2 separate regions of the Homo sapiens genome follow, and region 2 is linked to region 1. The links are contacts of gene promoters, found by promoter capture Hi-C in blood cells and fetal thymus (Javierre and others, 2016). All regions are on one chromosome and are shown on one strand. Each heading gives the region's core, a stretch centred on a gene start or on the middle of the fragment in contact. The rest is flanking DNA. Distances are from core to core; before and after follow the strand shown. Region 1 holds the start of CMTR2 (cap methyltransferase 2). Region 2 overlaps HYDIN (HYDIN axonemal central pair apparatus protein).

What was found. Contacts are between HindIII fragments. The CHiCAGO score rates a contact against its expected background, and 5 or more counts as called.
Region 2: a contact is called between a fragment that was not itself captured here and the fragment with the promoter of CMTR2 in region 1, in 2 of 17 cell types (M1 macrophages and M0 macrophages). The highest score is 5.8, in M1 macrophages.

Annotation. Positions count from the first base shown.
Region 1 is chr16:71,286,621-71,291,820 of GRCh38, reverse strand. CMTR2 (cap methyltransferase 2) reads left to right here and starts at 2,419. Exons shown (of 3, transcript NM_018348.6): 1 at 2,419-2,685; 2 at 2,884-2,943. LOC102723786 (a long non-coding RNA gene) reads right to left here and starts at 3,021. Exons shown (of 4, transcript XR_933707.3): 1 at 2,866-3,021. RefSeq lists silencers at 2,147-2,216, 2,297-2,666. The HindIII fragment of the contact is 7,094 bases long and covers 1-5,200 here.
Region 2 is chr16:70,805,567-70,810,766 of GRCh38, reverse strand. It overlaps HYDIN (HYDIN axonemal central pair apparatus protein), which reads left to right. Exons shown (of 86, transcript NM_001270974.2): 85 at 760-984; 86 at 2,705-5,200. The coding sequence ends at 3,187. Among named protein-coding and RNA genes, the nearest start is that of VAC14, 7.0 kb to the right of the region's middle. The HindIII fragment of the contact is 3,024 bases long and covers 1,387-4,410 here.

The sequences.
Region 1 (5,200 bases), core at 1,170-3,669:
ATAAATCCCTGTACTTTATTATTATTTTGAGACAGGGTCTCACTCTGTTGTACTGGCTAGAGTGCAGTGGTGTGATCTCAGCTCACTGCATCCTCAACCTCCTGGGCTCAGGTGATCCACCTCAGCCTCCCTTGTAGCTGAGATTACAGGTGCACACCACCATGCCAGGTTAATTTTTTGTTTTTCAGTAGAGACGGGGTTTCACTATGTTGCCTAGGCTGGTCTCAAACTCCTGGACTCAAGCAGTCTGCCCGCCTTGGCCTCCCAGAATGCTGGGATTACAGGCATAAGCCACCACACCCAGCCCGTGCTTTCTTTTTTTTTTTTTTTTTTTTTTTTTGTGAGACGGAGTCTCGCTCTGTCACCCAGGCTGGAGTGCAGTGGTGCAATCTCGGTTCACTGCAAGTTCCACCTCCTGGGTTCATGCCATCCTCCTGCCTCAGCCTCCCTAGAGCTGGGACTACAGGCTCTAAATATTTTTAGTTTTAATATAGTTCAATTTATACATTTTTCCTTTATGATTAGTATTTTGTGTCCTGTTATAAACTTTTTGACTACTTCAAGGTTGCAAAGATGTTCTCTTATGTTTTCTTATTAACTTTTAAAATACAGACTGACAATCCAAATGAAATGTATTTTTGTTTATGATGTAAGGAGGGTCCAAATACAATTTTTTTTGCATGGAGAGACACAAATGACCTACCACTATTTTGTGAAAATATAATCTTTTCTCCATTGGTCCATGTTCTGGAAGACTTGTAAAAAATGAATTTTACATTTATGTCTATATATCTATTTACATAAATGGTTAAAAACTCTACACATAATTCTAATATTCTTCTATTTTCATGCAATACTGTTGACACATACAGCCTATTAATGGCTGCATATAATGCATATATGTGCATTATATAGATGTACTGTAATAATTTAATTAATTCTCTTAAAGTAGACATTTAGAGTATTTCCATTTGGCTATGTTATTGAGATGCTGAAATGAACATTTTGTCCAAAGTGAGTGCCAGCTGTTTAATTATCTCCTAAGGATAAACTGCGAGGAGGAGGAATTGCTGGGTTAAAATGCATGTCCTCTTTTTTTCCCGAGACGGAGTCTCGCACTGTCGCCCGGGCTGGTGTGCAGTGGTGAGATCTCGGCTCGCTCCAACCTCCGCCTCCCGGGTTCAAGCGATTCTCCTGCCTCAGCCTCCCAAGTAGCTAGGATTACAGGCGCCCGCCACCACGCCTGGCTAATTTTTTGCATTATTAGTAGAGACGGGGTTTCACTATGTTGGTCAGGCTGGTCTCGGACTCTTGACCTCGTGATCCGCTCGCCTCGGCCTCTCAAAATGCTGGGATTACAGGCGTGAGCCACTGCGCCCAGCCAAAGTGCATGTCTCTTTTCAACGTTTGCCTTCTGGGCTAGGCGGCTTGGCTCATGCCTGTAATCCCAGCACTTTGGGTGGCCGAGACCAACGGATCGCTTGAGTCCAGGAGTTCCAGACCAGCCTAAGATAGGGAGATGCCATCTCTCTAGGAGGATCGCGTGAGCCCGGGGAAGTTGAGGCTGCAGTGAGCCGAGATCGAGCCACTGCACACCAGCCTGGGTGAGGGTAAGACCTTGTTTCAGTAAACAAACAAATAAATAAGTTTGCCTTCCGTAAGGTTTCTAATAACGTTTTTCTTCCATCCACAGATGTAAACCTGTTTCCCCATAGTCACACCAACAGTGGTCATTACCAAGGTTTTACATCTTTGCTAAACCGAGTAAAAAGAAAACTTGCTGTTTTCATTTCCATTCTTGTCTAATAATAGTTTAAACAGTTTTGTATATCCTTAGTGGCTATTTGTTTGACTTTTTTGTTTTTTGGGAGGCCTGTTCTAATATTTGCTCATTTTCCTTCTGGGGTTGTTGGCCTTTTTCTTATTGGCTTATTAAGCAACATAATTAATATATATTATGTCATGTATATATAAACAATCTTATCTTGCAGTTCCCTAGTTTGGCTTTTAACCTATCGTCTTTTGAGCTGCAGTTTCAACCCAGTCTGTACAGGAAGTAACAACTGTCCAGAAGAGTCTGAAAGCCCTTGGGGCCAGCAGCCAGTGAGCGGAACCAGCACGTCCTGACAGACAGGTTTGCCCCGTCCCTTCCCTCCCTCCCCCTCCCCCTCCCCTTCGCCTCCCTGTCCCTCTCCCTTTCACCCCTCTTCGGGACGGAGCCAAAGAATGCTCCGCCTGCGCGCGCCGCTTCCGTTGCCATAGTGGCCGGGGGCGGGAGGCTGGCGCCTCCCAGCTTCTGTACTCCGCGAAGCAAAACCTAGGGAGCTGAGGCCTAGGCGAGGCGAGAGTCGCCGGCGTGCGTAACGTTGGCGCACGTGACTCCGGCCCGGCCTACAGGGCGCGTGCGCAGTGGGACTTGAGTGCCTCCTGGTCCCTGTCTGCCGGCATTCGCGGCTGCGGGGCCCGGAGGTGGGACTGGCTTCCCGGTGCCGCGAGGGCGGGTCCGGACAGCCTTCCCCCCAGTCCGGCGCACCATCTCCCTGCCTTGTGGCTGGAGGCGCCGCGGACCCAAAGGGAGGGACCATCCCGGGAAGCAGCCCCGAGAGCGGAAGTGCAGAATGGCTTCCTCGAGAGAGTAAAGTGCAGCCTCTCCAGACACTGGGGCCCCAGTGGGCGTGGGCGAAGGTAATCCAGGCCTGGGTACGATTCCGGGCCCTCCTTCGACTTCCCAGCGGGTGAGCCAGGGGCTGGGACTGAGTTTCCTCCAGGTCAGGGACCGGGCCTCTGGAGTGGGGTTTGGGACTTACTTCACTAGATGAAATGAGATATGGGGTGCCCGGCCCAAAGTCAGCCCTGGATACTCACTGGCCGTTGTTTTCACAGTTGCTGGTAGGAGGAGTTGGCGGAAGCACTTGGAACTCCTTTATAAGTGTCAGCTGTGAGGTAAAAACTGTTGATGAGATCTTGTGGGTTTTGTTTTGGGTTCACTAATTTGGGCGGGGGCTACATAACTGCCTACTTGAGTTTGCAATATGAGAATGGTAATAGCGACCCACTTAGCAGAATTATGATGTCACAAAGCTCAAAGGACTGTTTAATGAAAGGCTCAGAGGATCATATACTGGAAAATTTTTCCACACACGCTGTAAGCCACATGCTTTTTTTTTTTTTTTTAAGTCATGCATTTAAGTGCTGGAGTGAAGTTGAGGTGCACTATTAATGACTCATATTCAGAACCTGAAGAGAGAGATCCCTTTTGTGCTAAGTATGATATCCACTCATTTATTCAGTAATACTGAGTGCTTACTGTGTACCAGGCAATGTCCAACTTCTTGGAATGGTCTATGTGTAAACAAAACAAAGATCTCTGTCCTGTGGAGCTTACATTCTAGTTTGGGGAAGACAAATAATAAACAGTAAACAAAAAGAAGGAAGTTATAGGTTGGAAGTACATGAGTACCATAGGAAAAAAATACAGCGAGGTAAGAGGCATGGGGAATGCAAGATGCAATCTTAGGTAGGCTTCACTGAGAAAATGACATTTGAGCAAATATTGGAAGGAGGTGAAGGAGTTAGCTGTGCTGACAGCTGGGGAAAGAGCATTCCAGGCAGAGGGACCACCAATGCAGAAAGACTTTTGTCTTGGAATGTGCTTGGTGTCTTCAGTGAACAGCAGAAAGGCCTGTTTGGCTGGAGTAGTGAGTAAGGGAGTAGTAATAAAAATTAGGTGGCAACACAGCAAAAGTATAGTCAGAACGGTGGAGTGTCTGAATCACTTAAGTTGTCCTCATGTGAAGGTAATTTCCTATTAGCTTAGGTAAGGTTTCACAGCTTAACTACAGCCGTTAATTAGTATGTGAAGTTAATGATTAAAATTAGACTTTTTCCGAAATAGAGTATAGATGAGATCTAAACATGGCTGTAGTTTCCAGCAAGCACAATGCGAATTAAGACAGAGGAGCTTGTTGAAAAAAACTTTTATATGCCCTTATTTTAAGATTTTAGTGAATGTGGAAACACCTCAGTTTTGTCTTCCTTTAGAAATTTGTCTAAATATAGCTCTACCAGTAAAAAAGAAACAAACAAAAAACAGGCATAGTGGCTGACACCTGTAATCCCAGCACCTTGGAAGGCCGAGTTGGAGGGATTGCTTGAGCCCAGGATTTTGAGACCAGCCTGGGCAACAGAGCAAGACCCCATCTCCACAATTTTTTTTTTAACTAACTGGGTGTGGTGGTGCACGTCTGTAGTCCCAACTCCTTTGGAGGCTGAGGTGGGAGGATCCTTTGAGCCTGGGAAGAGGTCAAGGCTGCAGGGAGCTATGACCTGTGCCACTGCACTCCAGCCTGGGTAGCAGAGTGAGACCCTGTCTCAAAAAAAAACTTTTTTTTAATATAAATATACCGTGGCAAACAAATGACTAAGAAGACACCTGTTACTTCAAGGAAATTACAAACTGGTAGAGTAGACTTGCAAATAATTTAAACAAAATAAGAAAGAATGAAAAAAGTGTGCTAAAAGAACAGTACAAAGTAAATGCTAAAAGAAACATCATCTGAATATTATTGTATGTATTACAGCAGTAGTTCCCTTTGTTTCTCATTTTGTCCTTGAACATCTGCTTTTCTGGAGTGATGATTTGATTGCCAATTTTTTCATATTTAACAAATTCAGATTTTTTTGAAAATCATTTGTAGAATGCATTGTGTATGCTAAATAAGTGCAGAATTTGTGAACTAAAGCATCTATTGATTAACATTGCACTAACAGGTACCATGTAATATTCATTGCTCTCCCTGCTGGAATTTGTAACTTTTCCAAAACTATGCCATTAAGCCATACTTCTCATATCCTTTTTCCTCTTCAGAAGGAAGAGGTTTCTTTGTTTCTGGTTTCTTTGGCAGTGTTGACTGCCAGAGTATGTAGAGTGACTATTTGTAATTTGTATATTCAATATGTATATTTCTTCAGTATAAAATTCTGCTATCCAAGTGTTAAGTTTTAGTGGCTAGAAGAAATAATGATATGTTATGGTGGAAGTGTGGAGCTGTCTGAACCATATGAAAGCCAGGAATCTATAGTTTGAGACATACCGGGTAAACAGTTGGTCACTTTCAGCATCAAGCAGAAAAAGGCTAACCACTCAAGTACAGCACAGTTTACAAGCAGTATGATGATGAACGTTAGTTGATGACCTGTA
Region 2 (5,200 bases), core at 1,649-4,148, 480 kb after region 1:
CCTCTCCTTCCCGGGTTCAAGTGATTCTCCTGCCTCAGCCTCCCGAGTAGCTGGGACTACAGGTGCGCACCACTGCGCCCAGCTAATTTTTCTGTTTTTTTTAGAAATGGGGTTTCACCATGTTGGTCAGCCTGGTTTCGAACTCCTGACCTTGTGATCCACCCGCCTCAGCCTCCCAAAGTGCTAGGATTACAGGCATGAGCCACCGCACCAGGCCCCGCTCTACCTCATCCTTTCTAGTGGCTACACAATATTCCACTGAAATGAGAAAACTGTAATTTGTTTAACTAATCTTCTACTAATAATACATTCGAATTGTTTCCCTTGTTTTGCTATATAAGAAATGCTTTCTGTTCTTGCTTTGTTTCGCCATGGGTAATAATGGAGGATGGCAGAACCCAGGACGCTGTTCTGAGATTGGCCATGAGCAAAGAAGGAGCTGCCTAAGCTTCAGCCCTCCTACTGGCAGCACTCACCCATCTCCACATCTCCCTATGTGCGCTTCTCAGGAGACAGTCCAGCACCTGCACTTAGATTCATAGAGATCCCAGATATAGAATCACCTGAACTAGAGAAAGCTAGGAGAGGTACAGGGGAGAGAGGGTGGGCTGGTTTGGACAGGTTCCCCAGGAGCAAGAACAGCATGATCATGTGCACTATTTCTGCCCCCAACCTGCTATGGAGCCTTGGGCAGGTCTCTAGGTGGCAGGTGATGAATTAGCCTTTCAGCATGACAGGATCCTCTGTTTTCTCTTCCAGGGCACGTTCTCATTTGAATTTCAGCCCCTGAAAGCTGGAGAAACCTTCGGAAGACTAACTTTGCACAACACTGACTTGGGTTACTACCAATATGAGCTCTATCTGAAAGCCACGCCAGCACTTCCGGAAAAGCCTGTTCACTTCCAGACTGTCCTTGGCAGCAGCCAAATCATCCTTGTGAAGTTCATCAATTACACACGGCAGAGGACAGAATACTACTGCAGGGTGAGTGGCCCCTGCTCTACCTTCTGCCCTTCCCTCACATGAACGCTGGGTTCAAAAACAATGAGAGGAGACACAGGGAGCATGAATGTGAGACTCAGAGAGACTCAGGTGCTTCGTTGTCATGGTGACACCTGCCTCAGAGGCCTGAATCTAGCCTGGAAACTCCCAGCTAGAAACAAACAGCACCAGGCCTGGGTTCTTCCATTACAGACTTTCTGTCTTAACAAGCTGTGATGGAGTGTAGGGGAGTTTTGTTTCACACAGCACGCCCAGTGATCCACAGAGGGAGACAGTATAGCTTAGTAGTCATGGTATCGGCTGTGGAATCAAACAGACATGGGTTTGAGTCCTGGCTTCACCACTTACTCTTTGTATGAATAATTTGCTTAAGCTCTCTAAGCTTATTTATAAATGGGGATAATACCCCCAACCTTGCAGGATTGCTATAAGGATTTTAAATATGTATCTAAAGCCATTTTCTTAGAGCCTAGCCTATAGTAAGTGCTCCATATACATTAGCTGTTACATCAGTTGGAATATAGGTTCAACTACTAAAACAGAAACCCAAAGCTAGACACAGTGGTTCACATCTGCAATCCTAGCACTTTGGGAGGCTCAGGTGGGAAGATCGCTATAGCCAGGAGTTGAAGACCAGCCTGGGCAACATAGCGAGACCTCATCTCTATTTAAAAACATAAAATAAAATTCTAAAAAACAGAAACCACAAATAACAGCAAATTAGGTGTTGGTTTCTCTCACAAATAACAGTCTGGGCATAAGCAGTTTGAGCTGGAATGGCAGCTCGCTGACACCAGGCACCCAGACATCTTCTGTCCCGATGCTCTGCCCTCTGAAGGGAGCTGTTTTGGTCCACGTGGGCCAAGATGGTTTATCAGGACATCCACATTCCAGCCAGCTACAAGGGAAGAGGGGACAGTTGTATATATCACCTCTACTAATATTCCATGGAACAAAACTTCACAGGACCACACCTATCAACAAAGGAGCTAGGAAAGGTAGCTTTTGTACTGGGCAGTCACATGCCCAGGTAAAATCAGAGATCTTGTGGCTGTAGCCAAGAGGCAGAGGCTCTTGATCAGTTGTATCAGCCAAGAGATGCTAGGTTAGGTGCAGTAGCAATCACAGGGGCTTAAGATGAAGGCTTGTTTCTCATTTGAGCAATTTTCCAGAGAGGCCAGCAGGGGACCCTGCTCATCTCAGTCTCTTGGGATTCAAGCACCATCTCAAATATTTCCAGTACAGTATTAGAGTGGTGAAAGGACCCTGACAGGAGTTAAATTGGCAATGAAAGGCTCTAGCATGGAAGTGACACCTTTCACTTCTGCTCACAGCTAGTTGTCTGGAACTAGCACCACCCATCTGCAAGGAACCAGAATGTTTGGTCTTCCATGTACATGGAAGGAAAGAACCGAATATAGGGGATCAGCATCCATGACTGCCCTATTAACGTAATGTGGCTGTGTGTCTCAGTACACATTATTAACATCTCTTTGCCTTTGTTTCTTTGTAGCAAAATAGAAATAATAATTAGTAATACCTACCCTACAAGGGAGTTATAAGGACACAACTTTATAACATTCCCAGTCTCACACAGACATAGTTGCTTGATGTCCAGGAGTGGAGGGGCTGGGGTAGACTTGAGCTCCTGGTGTGCTCTTCAGGATCTCACGTGAGCTGAGTTTGTTTGTTCCCCTTTCAGACCGACTGTACAGACTTCCACGCAGAAAAACTCATTAATGCAGCCCCAGGAGGCCAGGGAGGCACTGAAGCCAGTGTGGAAGTCTTATTCGAGCCCAGCCACCTGGGTGAGACCAAGGGCATCCTGATCCTATCATCGCTCGCAGGTGGAGAGTATATCATCCCCCTCTTTGGAATGGCTCTGCCTCCCAAGCCCCAAGGTCCCTTCTCGATCCGAGCCGGGTACAGCATAATCATCCCCTTCAAGAATGTCTTCTATCACATGGTGACCTTCTCCATCATCGTGGATAACCCAGCCTTCACCATTCGCGCTGGAGAGTCTGTGCGGCCCAAGAAGATCAACAACATCACAGTCTCCTTTGAAGGAAACCCATCTGGCAGCAAAACCCCCATCACCACCAAGCTGACTGTGAGCTGCCCTCCTGGTGAAGGGAGTGAGACTGGAGTTAAATGGGTTTATTATCTGAAGGGGATCACCCTTTAGTGGTAACCAGGGTTACCTGTATCAACCAAAAGCTATGCATTGTCTTAGCCTGAAAAAGAATAGAGAAAACAATAAGAATTCTAAAGGAACTGTTTTTATTCTTCTCATACAATTATAGGGCAGTTATTTCCCTATTATGTGTTTTCCAAATATAGATATGAAATATCTATTCCATATTAAACATTATAACTACACACAACAGCTCTATATTTTAGACAACTGAATCCTTGTGAGTCCCTAAATTGAGTTTCTTGACATAGCCCCAAAGCTCAAGTACTTTGTAATAATTCCCATTTTTATCAAGAAGGCACAGGTATCACACTAGTGACCTTCTACTCTACAACACTTAGCAATGCGTGACGCTGGGTACTGCAGTTTCTTTTTAAAATCCAAAATGGTTTAAAAAGCCCTTAGACATGACTATTTTGATGTGGCATTTTATTCTGCTTTCACATAAAAGCCAAATAAATATTTTCAGAGGGATGAGCAGATAACATTAGGGCAATCCAGGGACACTCCCATCACTTTTTCTCTTGGCTTTTATACCATCAGTGTCCGAATCCCACATCTGCCCTACACAGAAAGTTCTCACTGAAGTCTAGGCCCTGGAGAAAGGCTAATAGAGATCCCAGCTCCCCCCACCACACATACACACCCCGCCTTGGATAGCATTCAGCAGGAGAGCAGGGATTCTCAACCCATCTGCACATCAGGACCACCTAACTCTCACTCTGAACGTGCCCAGTCCCCATCTGATGTAATTGGTCTGGAGAGGGGTGTGGGCATCTTTATTATATACATTTAACTTGTATAGCAGATGGTTAAAGTCTGGCCCTGGCATGGGTTTGCTTCTGCAGACATACACCTCTGACGGAGGGTCCCCCTGCCTCTACCTGCTCCCCACACTCATCCCCCACAGCCCTCCTACAAGAGGGGCAGGAGACTGGAAGAAGATGGCCTCTTGGGAATGAATGCCGTAAAGAAGTGGGTCTTAAAAATGGTCCCTGGGCCAGCAGCAGTACTATCACCTGGGAATTTATTAAAAGTCAAACTCTCAGTCCCCATGTCAGATCGACTGAATCAAAAAGTCTGTAGGTGTGGCCCGGCAATCTTTTAGCAAGTCCTTATACCTGTCAGAGGTGGCTTTCATGGAGGGAGACTCTTCTCCTTCTTCTGTACCTCCCCACAACCCTAGCCCAGTATACTCTAGGACCAAAAAAGCTTTTTCTAGAATGTCTGTAAACACAGACCTTTACAATAGTCCTCCCTCATCCTCAGGGGATACATTCCAAGGTGCCCAGTAGATGCCTGAAACCACAGATAGTACTGAACACTCCATATACTGTGGTATTTTCCTTTACATACATACCTTTGATTAATTTATAAATTAGGCACAGTAAGACATTAACAATAATAATAATAAAATGTAATAATTATAATAATATGCCAGCATCACTACCCATGTGCTTTGGGGCCATTATTAAACTAAATAAGGTTTCCTTGAACACAAGCATTGCGATCCCATGACAGTTGACCTGCTAACCCCAAGTCATCTACTCAGTGACTATCAAGTAGGTTGTGTCTACAGCATGCATACGCTAGACGAGGGGATGATTCACATCCTGAGCAGGATGGAGTGGGATGGCATGAGATTTCCTCAAGTTATTCAGAACAGCATGCCATTTAAAAAGTATGAATTTTTTATTTCTGGAATTTTTCATTAAATATTTTCATTCCACAGTTGACCACAGGTAACTGAAGCCATAGATGAGGAGGACTGCCATACTCAATAGACAATTTATTTCTATAACCTCTAAAGACACTACTGATAGGTCTAAAGACAACCAGATGACAGATTTTCACAATGGTTAAGTGAGCAAAGATCGCTCTGACCAATAATCTGAGAGGATGCTAAGATCAATGAGCAAGAGTGATGACTTGCAAATATACAGCATCTGTATAAAGTCAGTGCTTCTGAAATATTAGTATACATCAGCATCCCCTGGAGGGCTT